Regions from separate parts of the Homo sapiens genome. Here all the other regions are linked to region 1. Evidence: promoter capture Hi-C in 16 types of primary human blood cells and fetal thymus (Javierre and others, 2016). All regions are on one chromosome and are shown on one strand. Each heading gives the region's core, a stretch centred on a gene start or on the middle of the fragment in contact. The rest is flanking DNA. Distances are from core to core; before and after follow the strand shown. Region 1 holds the start of CNNM3 (cyclin and CBS domain divalent metal cation transport mediator 3). Region 2 overlaps STARD7 (StAR related lipid transfer domain containing 7). Region 3 overlaps SNRNP200 (small nuclear ribonucleoprotein U5 subunit 200).

What was found. The method cuts DNA at HindIII sites, captures the fragments that hold promoters and counts their contacts. A CHiCAGO score of 5 or more calls a contact.
Region 2: a fragment that was not itself captured here is called in contact with the fragment with the promoter of CNNM3 in region 1 in 3 of 17 cell types (neutrophils, activated CD4 T cells and monocytes); the score reaches 7.4 in neutrophils.
Region 3: a contact is called between a fragment that was not itself captured here and the fragment with the promoter of CNNM3 in region 1, in 4 of 17 cell types (activated CD4 T cells, total CD8 T cells, total CD4 T cells and 1 more). The highest score is 8.4, in activated CD4 T cells.

Annotation. Positions count from the first base shown.
Region 1 is chr2:96,814,609-96,818,399 of GRCh38, reverse strand. CNNM3 (cyclin and CBS domain divalent metal cation transport mediator 3) reads right to left here and starts at 2,132. Exons shown (of 8, transcript NM_017623.5): 1 at 898-2,132. The coding sequence starts at 2,122. RefSeq lists silencers at 1,276-1,385, 1,396-1,535, 1,546-2,525 and an enhancer at 2,866-2,985. The HindIII fragment of the contact is 9,370 bases long and covers 1-3,791 here.
Region 2 is chr2:96,199,899-96,203,689 of GRCh38, reverse strand. The region is part of intron 1 of STARD7 (StAR related lipid transfer domain containing 7); the gene reads left to right. Among named protein-coding and RNA genes, the nearest start is that of STARD7-AS1, 6.6 kb to the left of the region's middle. The HindIII fragment of the contact is 1,052 bases long and covers 1,659-2,710 here.
Region 3 is chr2:96,289,379-96,293,169 of GRCh38, reverse strand. It overlaps SNRNP200 (small nuclear ribonucleoprotein U5 subunit 200), which reads left to right. Exons shown (of 45, transcript NM_014014.5): 16 at 75-198; 17 at 1,270-1,419; 18 at 1,668-1,778; 19 at 2,355-2,486; 20 at 2,656-2,844; 21 at 3,174-3,371; 22 at 3,791. Among named protein-coding and RNA genes, the nearest start is that of SNRNP200, 14 kb to the left of the region's middle. The HindIII fragment of the contact is 3,084 bases long and covers 1-2,792 here.

The DNA of each region.
Region 1 (3,791 bases), core at 883-3,382:
AAAAAAAAAAAAAAAAGGGCCGGGCACAGTGGCTCACGCCTGCAATCACAGCACTTTGGGAGGGCGAGGCAAGTGGATCACCTGGTCAGGAGTTCAAGACCAGCTTGGTCAACGTGGTGAAACCCCATCTTTACTAAAAATACAAAAATTAGCCCGGAATGGTGGGGTGCATCTGTAGTCCCAGCTACTCGAAGGCTGAGGCAGGAGAACTGCTTGAACCTGGGAGGCGAAAGTTGCAGTGATAAGAGATCGGCCACTGCACTCCAGCCTGCGCGACAGAGCTGGGAGAAAGGGAGACTAAGTCAGCATAAATGGAGTTACTTTTGGTGAAAGCAAAGTGTTAAGTTTCCCTGACTTTACCGCAGATAAGGGATTGACACCTAAATACCCTTATCTGCAGTAACGCCAGGGACCTTAAGAATGCTCTGAAGGAAACATTACAGGTCCAGTCAATTTGATATTACATGTGTGCACACAACAATATCCCAGATACCTGGAGACTACCATCTTTTCTATGTTCTTCTAGTTTCTATCCAAAAATTTGGACCTGCTACAAAGTCAAGCACACAGAAACACTCTGGGAGAGGGAAAGAGCTGGGGGATTAGAGGACAAGCGGACATACCCCTCCCTGCAAATGGGGGGGGGGGGCTATCCTGACGCGGGGGTTAAAGTGTTCGCTGTCTAAAGGATTCCTCCCACTCTGATCGATGGCCTTTAAGTATTTCAAAAGGTCATTCCAAGCTGCAAGGCCAATACCGTCTTGAAAAGGGACCTTAGAGGTCTCACTGCTCTCCACAGGGGTGGGACCCTTTCCAGAAGGCTTCCATAACTCTCCACCCCTTTTCAGGGAGAGGGCACTCGCACGGGCGTCCCCTGCACCATGCCCGGGCCGTTACCTCGCTTGAATTCCTCCAGGACAGCGTCCAGCTTGGTGTCGTTGAAGACGAAGTGGAGCGGATGGTTGTAGAAACGAGTGATGGTGCTGAGCGGCGTGCAGTCTTCGGGATCCACGAAGGCCAAGTCCTTGAGGTAGAGCATGTCCACGATGTTGGAGCGCTCCTCCTCGTACACCGGGATGCGCGTGTGGCCGCTCTGCATGATGCTGGCCAGGACGCCGAAGTCCAGCACGGTGCTGGCGTCCAGCATGAAGCAGTCTTCGAGGGGCGTGAGCACGTCCTCCACGGTCCGGCAGCGCAGCACGCCCTTGCTGAGATCGCTGTAGGGGTCGCCGCCGCCGCGCGCCAGCTCCAGCACCCGCTCCCGCAGCCGCCCGGGCCGCGCCGCCAGCTCCAGCAGCTGCCCCACGGGCAGCGCGACGGGCAGAGTGAGCAGGACGGCCAGGCGGCTGAGGCCGAGCGCTCGCGGCGCCAGCGCCAGCGTCCAGCGCCCGCTCACGGCGGCCGGCACCACCTCTCCCACCAGGAACACGAGCCCCGCGCTGCCCAACACGGCGGGCACCGCACGCTGGCCGGCCGCGCGGTACAGCAGCACCGCCAGCGCCGCCTGCGCCAGGCTGGCCAGCAGCAGCAGCGCGCCCAAGGCGCAGCCGGCCCAGCGCCGCGCGGGCTCCAAACGCCGCGCCGCCGCACGCTCCGCCTCCGAGCCGCTCTCGCGCAGCACCTGCACCTCGGCAGGCGCCAGCGCCAGCGCGCTCAGCTGCAGGCCTCGCGCCAGCGCTGCCAGCGCCAGCAGCCCGGCCGCCCCCAGGCCCAGAGCCCAGGGCGGCGCCGCCTCCTCAGCCGCCCCGCCACCCGGCTCCACGCGCACCGCCAGCAGCGCCGAGTGCGGGCGCACGGCCTCGGCCCGCAGGCGCAAGCGCAGCAGCGCGCGCCACTCGCCCGCGGGGGAGGCCGCCTCCTCCCGGCAGCCCGCCCCCTCCGGGGCCACCCAGGACCAAGAGCTGTTGGCGAAGCCCGGGCCGAAGAGGCGCAGGAGGAAGGTGGCGTCCGGCGTGTCCCGCGCCGCCCCTCCGCGTACCCAACCCGCGCCCGCCGCTCCATCCTCCTCCAGGCAGAAGCCCAGCACTCGCGGGCCCGGCGCGGCCTCCCCCGCGGCGTTGCCCAGGCAGAGCGCGGCGAACAACCAGCCTAACCGACCCGCCGCAGCTACCGCCGCCGCCATCGCCTGCTGCCCCCTCTCGGCCTCTCGCGCAGCCTACCCCGCTCGCCCCGCGCCTCCCCGGGCCAATCGTTACGGCTCTTCGCGCCTCCTCGGCCAATAGGCGGTGGGCGGGGGCGGGCCCCAGGGTCGGACTAGGCTGCGCCGGGGAGTAAACAAGTGGCGGCCAGGGGCGGGCCGGGGGCGTGGGGCTCCGGGCCCCGCCGAGTCTGCTGCGGCTCCGGATGCGCGGGGTGGCAGTGGCCGGGAGGACGCGGGGCGGCGGGCAGGGCCTCCCAAGCCCGGCTGTCCTCGGCCCGTGCGCGGCGCCCGGAGTCCCACTCCTCCCGATGCTGTCCCCCGCGCCCGGAGGCCGAGCCAATTCTCTGGGAAGTTCCCGGCTTGGGAGCGGAGCGGCCGGTCGGAAGAACCTCGGGTGCTGGCGCGCCTGAAGTTGCAGACCAGACTGAAATGTGCGAGACATGTGCCTTTTTCTTAGGAAAGGCCCCAGGTACCAGAAAGGTTTTCAGCGCGCCGACCTACGGGGCTAAGAGGGCTGAAATAAGAACCAGTGACTGAGCGCCGGGAGGTTTAAGGTTTATGGAAGATGTTCATCGCGCCGTACCCTACTAGAGGTTTGGGGACGTGGGACACAGCCCCTGCGTTCCCGCCGCGGACCCCGTGATAAATACACAGACACACAAAATCACTACCGCCTTGAATCTGGACAGCTACCTCAGGTGGTTAATATCTAACAGGAGCAGAGTGGAGCTCAGAAAGACTCAGCGTGGGTGCTGGGTTCCGGCGCGACCAGCCTGATACCTAGGTCAGCATCTCAGCCACACAAGCAGGCGGCAGTTCTGTCAGGAATTACTACATCTGGTGATTCCACTTCTCATAGCTCACCGCTGGGAGAATAATTCCTCAGGATTAACAAGATCTATTCCAGAGGATCCTCACTGCTGAAGCGATTTTAGAAGACAGTGTGGTCTGTTGACAGTATGGAATATTCTTTACCCATCAGATATGATCTGTATGTGATTGGAAGGAAATAAACCAACTGCTAACAACACTTCTCTATAGATGTTCAGATTCAGTAATTTTTGTATTTTTCTCTACACTTTTGTTTTTTCAAATTTCCTAGCACAAGAAGACTTTGACTTACTGCACATGTCATTTTAAATGACCTTTATAAAGACTCTATAGAAACAATTTGCTATGTCATGAAAGTAACAATCAAAAAAAGTATGCACATTGTGGCCACAAAGTAAAACTTGTGTGGAAGGTAATGTGCAAAAAAAAAAAAAAATGAGTAAGCTGGTGGTGAGTGACCAAAGGAAAAGGCTTTGTAAAAAACTTTTTTTTTTTTTTTTGAGACGGAGTCTCGCTCTGTCACCCAGGCTGGAGTGCAGTGACGCAGTCTCGGCTCACTGCAAGCTCCGCCTCCCGGGTTCACGCCATTCTCCTGCCTCAGCCTCTCCGAGTAGCTGGGACTACAGGCGCCCGCCACCACGCCCGGCTAATTTTTTTGTATTTTTAGTAGAGACGGGGTTTCACCGTGGTCTCGATCTCCTGACCTCGTGATCCACCCACCTTGGCCTCCCAAAGTGCTGGGATTACAAGCGTGAGCCACCGCGCCCGGCCTGTAAAAAACTTTTTAAAAGATGGTAATAGCTGGCCGGGCACGGTGGCT
Region 2 (3,791 bases), core at 935-3,434, 610 kb after region 1:
CGCCTGACTCCTATGTCTTTTATTTCTAGGTGTGTCCCGTATCAGTAGAACCTGACTTTGACAATAACTTGGAATTTGAAGAGGAGGAGAATTATGTGAAGTGAGGCTGTTGTCTGACTGAAATTCCTAATTGTAGGGATGGTTTCATTTAAGTAATTTTGGAGCCTTACACCAAGCTCCATGCTGAGGGCAGGACCCCTAGATGAACCAAATGTTGTTTCACTTACTTTGTTTTCATGGTTTGTTTGCTTTCAGTTTCTATAGCTTTCGGTCCAGCCTTTTTCAGATATTGAAATGATTTTCGTTTTGGAGAAAGAAAGGCATGGTCTCTCTTTTCTTGATCCTTTTTCTAATCTGCTGATTTTACTATTTTGGGAATAATCTCTTTTGTCCTTCTGTCCTCTCTTAAGTCTCTTAAGATGTGAAGGTTTAGCCACCCATCCCATCCAAACAAGATTGGGCACAGCAGCCTAAAGAGATGTGTCATGAGAGGTTTTCCTTTTCTCCACATATATGTTAGTGAATGACTTTGTGCTCCTGTATGTTAATTGGGTCTTGTCATGTTAGCATTTAGAAGTTCAGACCCTTCAGGGATTCCTAAACCTTGGGAAAAAATAACTTGATCATTTACATTTTCGTGAAGCAGTCTTGCTCTATCATTCATACTGTGTCTCCACAAGACATTTCCGTCCCTTTTCATAATTTTAGTCAAAGCCACCTAGTAACCTTTAATTATATAGGAGAGCTTGATTAAGCAGTGGGTCAGATGCTCTGAACCACCTTGATTCTTAGAAGGTCATGAAAAAATGTTGCCTATAGTTAATAATTTTCTTAAAACTTTATTAACTATGTAATTATTTTATGAGCCTCTGATGTTTTAGTACGACATTCCACCAGTGGAAACATGCTCCCCTTTATTATGTGGCAAGAATGATAATTCGGGCCAGGTGTTGTGGCATGTGCCTGTACTTGGGAGGCTGGAGGATCACTTGAGCCCAGGAATTTGAGGCCAGCTTGGGCAATGAAGAAAAAAATTTTTTTTAAAGAATGACACTCAAGAGTTGTGCTTAGTTATTGTTGAAGGATGCTTTATAGACCTCAAAAATGCTGTAATCGATGCCCTATGGTGCCTGATTGTTCTCTGAGCAAATCTAGCTATGGTTTTGCTTTTGCTCTTCTTCTGCAACATCTAAATGCCTATCCTAAGGTTCCTTCTCTGTTTCTCTATGGTTTTGCAGCTGGTCAGGGTTCTTGGTTGTAACAAAGAAACTGGTCTTGGTTAATTTAAGCCAAAAAGGAATTAATCAAAACGGTATTAGGTCACTCAGTATTGACAAGGCCAGGGTACAGGTTGACCAAGACCTGCAGCAGGAATAATCTACTTAGAGCAGTGTTGCTGGCATTCTTTCCCCCAGATTGGTTGTACTCCTGGACTCCCAGCTCCCTCAAGATCCTGTGCCTTTGTGTTATCTTCAAGATGCAAAGCCCCTTCTAGAAGTCTCTAACCTCACTTAAATTAGGAGCTGTGCTTTAACTGCTTGTGGGCGGGAGGGGGGCTGCATTCACCTATTTGGGTTCTTTCCAAATAGAAAGGGATTTCAGGCAGTCAAAATGACAAATATTCCCCTATATAAATATTTTCATCCAAGTCCAAAGCTTAAAATTCAGCAAATTCAATTTTAGAACTAATAGGACTTCAAGAAATAACGTCCTCACTTTAAAGGTAAAATAAAATAAGATCACACAGCTGGTCAGCTGTAGAGCCAGGACTAGAACACAAATCTTTAGACTTACCATTATTTTGAATTGCTCTAAACTTTTAATCTTGGATTGACACTATACCTTTGAATTTTTGGCTTTTGCAGCAATATATTAATGCAATATATATATATTTTTGAGACAGTTTCACTCTCACCCAGGCTGGAGTGCAGTGGCACGATCTCAACTCACTGCAACCTCCATCTCCTGGGTTCAACAGATTCTTGTGCCTCAGCCTGCTGAGTAGCTGGGATTACAGGCGCAGGCCACCATGCCTGGCTAATTTTTTTTTGTAGTGCTGGGATTACAGGTGTGAGCCGTTGCACCTGGCCAATTTTTTTTTTTTTTTAAGAGTCTTACTCTGTTGCCAGGCTGGAGTGCAGTGGCATGATTTTGGCTCGCTACAGTCCCGACCTCCAGGGCTCAGGTGATTCTCCCACCTCTGCCTCCTCAGTAGCTGGGACTACAGCTGCATGCCACTACGCCCAGCTATTTGTTGTGTAATTTTTTTTTTTTTTTTTTAGAGGTGGAGTTTTGCATGTTGCCCAGGCTGGTCTTGAAGTCCTGGGCTCAAGTGATCTGCTCACCTTAGCCTCCCAAAATGCTGAGGATTATAGGCGTGAACCACTGCCCCAGGCCTTAATGCAATCTTTTAATAAAAATTTGGATTACTGAGGCCTATTTTCATTTTATTATTTCTTGATTTACTAAATTTATTCATGTAATGTATGTAATGTTTACCAGGACATGTAATGTTTACCAGGACATGCTAGGAGCTGGAACTACAAATATGAAAAAGACTGATTCTGGGCTATTAAGGAATTTATAGTTTAGTAAGGAAAGCAGATATAAAGATAGATTAATTATAGTGTAATATGCCTGTGTAAAGGAATAAAAATCAGTGTGTATGGTTAACTCTGCCTAGCAGTTACCTTTGTGGTTTTTTGAAGCTTGAAGGGTGAAAAGGCATTTCAGACAGTGTAGCAGTAATTTGGGTCTTCTTCAGTCTTGAATTGCAATAGAGTGTATAAGACAGCCAGCCAGCAATTTTTGTTTCTTATCTGTAACCTTTCTTTAAATGTTGCAGGGGGTAGGGTGAGGTGGAGGGCACGGAGAAGCTGGGTATGGTAGCACACGCCTATTGTGCCAGCTACTTGGGAGGCTGAAGTGAAAGGATCTCTTAAGCCCAGGAATTTGAGGCCAGTTTCGGCGACATAGTGAGACTTTGTCTCAAAAAAGAAGAGGTTATGGGAAAAATACAAGCCAAGTTTTAAAAAATTATTATTATAAAATGTTTCAGATATATAAAAAAGGTTTAAATAATAACACGAGCGTTGCAAGTACAGCTATGTTAAGAAATAAGATATTACAAGTATACTTAGGGTTCCTCTGTACCTTTTTCCAGTTGTATTCTTATTTTTCCCCAAGATGTCACCATTATCCCAATTTGTTGTATATAATTCCCTATGTTTTTATACATATGTATATACCCCTGAATGATACATAGTGATACATAGTACAATATATGGTGGTGTTTTTCATGTTTTAAAACTTTTTGCAGCCGGTGAGTCCCGCCTGGAATCCCAGCACTTTGGGAGGCCCAGGCTAGTGGATCACTTGAGGCCAGGAGTTCAACACCAGCCTGGGCAACATGGTGCAACCCCATCTCTACTAAAAATACAGAAAACAAATTAGCTGCATGTGGTGGTGCTTGTCTGTAGTCCCAGCTACTTGGGAAGCTGAAGTGGGAGAATCACCTGAGCTTGGGGAGTTAAGGCTGTAGTGAGCTGTGATTATGCCACTGCACTCTAGCCTGGGCTCAGAACAAACAAAAAAAAACCACACAACTTTTCGCAGTCCTGAACAAAATACTAACAAACTGAACTCAGCAATATATGAAATGGATTATATGCCATGAAAAGTAGGATTTATTTAAGGAACGGCAAGGTCGGTTCTTCATACAAAAATCAATTTATTACACCATATTAATAGAAAAAAGGACAAAAACTGCGTGATCATCTGAATAAACACAA
Region 3 (3,791 bases), core at 1-2,500, 520 kb after region 1:
GGCAGTGAAAAAGACTGTTTATTCCCACAGTATTTTCTGCCAAAGCCTCATTTGTCTAACTGTTGAACTTCTAGCTTCCGTCCAGTGCCTCTGGAACAGACATATGTGGGTATCACAGAGAAAAAAGCTATCAAGCGTTTCCAGATCATGAATGAAATCGTCTATGAAAAAATCATGGAACATGCTGGAAAAAATCAGGTTTGCCCGTGGTTTATGGTTACTCTTGAACCCCATTCTTTCGAATGTTTGATTCACCAATAATTGGGGAAGATTGACAGAAATTAAAAGAGAGAAGACACAACATAAATCACCAATATCAGCTATGAAATGGGATATTACTACAGAACCTATAGCCACTGGAAGGATAATAAGGGAATACTATGAGTAATTTTATGCTCATAACTTTAAAAATTCAGAAGAAATGGACCAGTTCTCCAACAACTACCAGTTAACTAGCAAAACTCAGCCCAGATGAAATAGATAACATGAAGAGCCCTACAACTATTAGAGAGTTGGAGAATTAAAAATCCCCCCAGCAAGCAATCCCCAGTCCCAGATAATTGTTTTGTGCATTCGCATTATCCAGGGTCCCTCCATAAAAGATTTGGGGTCACTTACACTAAAAATGCAAGACAATAAAAAGAGGAAAATGAAAAACTAGAGGGCATTTTACTAGACAGTGTGATAGAATTTTTAAATTGAAAGTCGAGTTGAGCAATGTTAACTAACAAAAAATAAGGAAAAGTGACTGGTTTTGTATTTCTTTTTGTCTGATGAAAAGAAGCATATGAATTTATATGAAGAGACAGATCTTTTCTTGGCACTAAATACTAGGAAGACTTCATTCCCTACAACAGTGTACTAGTCTCAGACTTATTTCCTAAATCCTTTTATAAGTAGTGTAATGTTTTAGTTGTTATTTTGCAGACACATTTTCATGCAGCTTTGACTCTTGTTAGGTGCTTGAACATAAATTCTGAGTTGAGAGGCCCGAATTTGTAGTTGTAGTCTATTTAAAGTTGCTGTTCAAGATAGGATGTTGAAGTTGGTTTAATTTCTCAGCTCCAGGACTGTGAACTTGGTGGGTGCATTCCCTTAAAAGTCTTTCCAGCCGTGTTTAGGCTTCCTCTGAGCCTGCACACATTCCTGCCCTTGCCCCTCTCCAGGACCTTGGCTTCTGGTGGTGATGGTGCAACTTCTGCTTCCTGCTGCAGGTGCCCTGGGGCTGTGAGTATCTCGTGACTGTAGCAAACTGTGGCTTCTCCTTAGGTGCTGGTGTTTGTCCACTCCCGGAAGGAGACTGGAAAGACAGCCAGGGCCATCCGGGACATGTGCCTAGAAAAGGACACTCTGGGTCTGTTTCTGAGGGAGGGCTCAGCCTCCACAGAAGTCCTGCGAACAGAAGCTGAGCAGTGCAAGGTGAGGAGGGGCCAGCTGGGTTCTCTCATTCCTACCTGGCAGCTGTGTCCATCTCAGGCCCCAGACAGCTCCTCTAGGACTGTACTGTGGTATTGTTGTTTCCCATGGGTTAAGGTTGATTGTCTGGATGTGATTATTACTATTCCACATAATAGTTAAGGGGCAGGGTCTCATGGGAGGAGATTTCCTTAGTCCTTGGATGAGTCCTACAGGAAGGCTCGCCTCATCCCCGGTTCTTTGTTCCACAGAACCTAGAGCTGAAGGATCTTCTGCCTTATGGCTTTGCTATTCATCACGCAGGCATGACCAGGGTTGACCGAACACTCGTGGAGGATCTTTTTGCTGATAAACATATTCAGGTGAGGGGGTGCAAAGCGTTTGGAGGAGCAGGTGGGACATACTTCAGAAGATGGGCAATGTCAAGTTTGTGCCATGTTTGCTCCTGGTACTTTATTGCTTCTGGCCCAGCTAGCCCAGGTCAGAGGGTTGTGGTGGACACAATAAATAGAACCTTATGCTACTCTCCCAACTCTTCCCACCTTGCTTGAGTTTAGGATAGTCTGAGAAGCATAGTGAAGCAAGCACTTTGGTGACTTCAGATAGCTCCAAACAGTGTCTCATGGGGGCACGCGTGCCCTTGTCGTTCCCTCTTTCCGGATAGGCTCTGTTTTACCTTTTCTAGTAACTTTAAGGTTGTTTAATACAAGTCTGCACTTGTGCCTCTGGAACCTTGAAATGTTCATTACTGAATAGATGAGGAACCCAAGGAAACCTTTCCTCTTTATTCTGGTGTCACATTGACAAGTACTGGGACCCCACGCGCCCTACCGGCTAGTCCTGAGAGAAGCTCTGAGGCCAACTGCCTAGAGAAGCCAGGGATATTAACCCCTGGTGATGGCATCTGTTCTCCTCATTACCTTGTTTTGCCTCTGTAGGTTTTAGTTTCCACAGCAACTCTAGCTTGGGGTGTGAATCTCCCTGCACATACAGTCATCATCAAAGGCACCCAGGTGTACAGTCCAGAGAAGGGGCGTTGGACAGAACTGGGAGCACTGGACATTCTGCAGGTACAGAGCCTTTTGAGTTTATTCTCAGCAGGGATCAGTATCCTTGCCTGAAATGCAGGGATGCTGGAAAGCTAGCAGATCAGAGGTCTAGTTCTGTAATGTAGATACCTGCATCAAAATTCAGACATTCTCTTGACATAGCATTCTTGGTTCGCTGTCTCTGATCTAGATGCTGGGACGTGCCGGAAGACCCCAGTATGACACCAAGGGTGAAGGCATACTCATCACATCTCATGGGGAGCTACAGTACTACCTGTCCCTCCTCAATCAACAACTTCCTATTGAAAGCCAGATGGTTTCAAAGCTTCCTGACATGCTCAATGCAGAAATCGTGCTAGGAAATGTCCAGAATGCCAAGGTAGGGGAGGACTGCTTGTTGTGCTTCATGCTTTCCCCGCAGACACCAAGGCACCAGGAGTGGGTCGGTCCCTATTGTGCTGCGGGCCAGCAGCGTCCGAGGCCTTCCATCCCTGCACCCACATCTTGGGTCTGGCAGATAGTTCCCCTTGTTACCAAGATCTTAGAAGACGCTTAGATCTTTTTAATAATGAAATGCTAAAAACATTCAGAATACGATGTAATATGCATCCTTGTAGTTGGGAATTAATTTCTAAGCAATTCATGGGAGCCTGTCATTTGGACATCAAGAGTTTCTCCATGCTAAGAACCATGAGCTGTGTCTTGTAGGATGCGGTGAACTGGCTGGGCTATGCCTACCTCTATATCCGAATGCTGCGATCCCCAACCCTCTATGGCATCTCTCATGATGACCTCAAGGGAGATCCCCTGCTGGACCAGCGCCGACTAGATCTGGTTCATACAGCTGCCCTGATGCTGGACAAGAACAATCTGGTCAAGTACGACAAGAAGACGGGCAACTTCCAGGTGCGTGGGGTGAGGGTTTTGAGGCAAAGGTCTCAGCAAAAGTTGTTGGCCCAGGAAAAAATTTTTCAGATTGCTCTCTTGATGTGAGTACTGCCTATCTAATCACCTGTTGCTTAGAACAGCAGAAAAATGGGTAGCTTTTCCCATAACTTGAGGTGGATAATTCAGCTGTCTTGTCCGTGCAGACATCATTTCACTATGGGTCAGCTTATTCTGCTGTTTTTCTTCATGTGCCTGGGCCTGGCACTTGTACTGCTGTGACTTCATCCAGTTGTCCTATTAGGACAATAATGACATTGGGTCATATACTTTACCAAAAAAAAAGTACAAAAAACCTATAGGACAGTAACTTATGGTCCACAGTTAGAGGTTGGAGCTCATTAATAGTCAGCACTGGATTGAGTCTACCTTCTCTCCAGG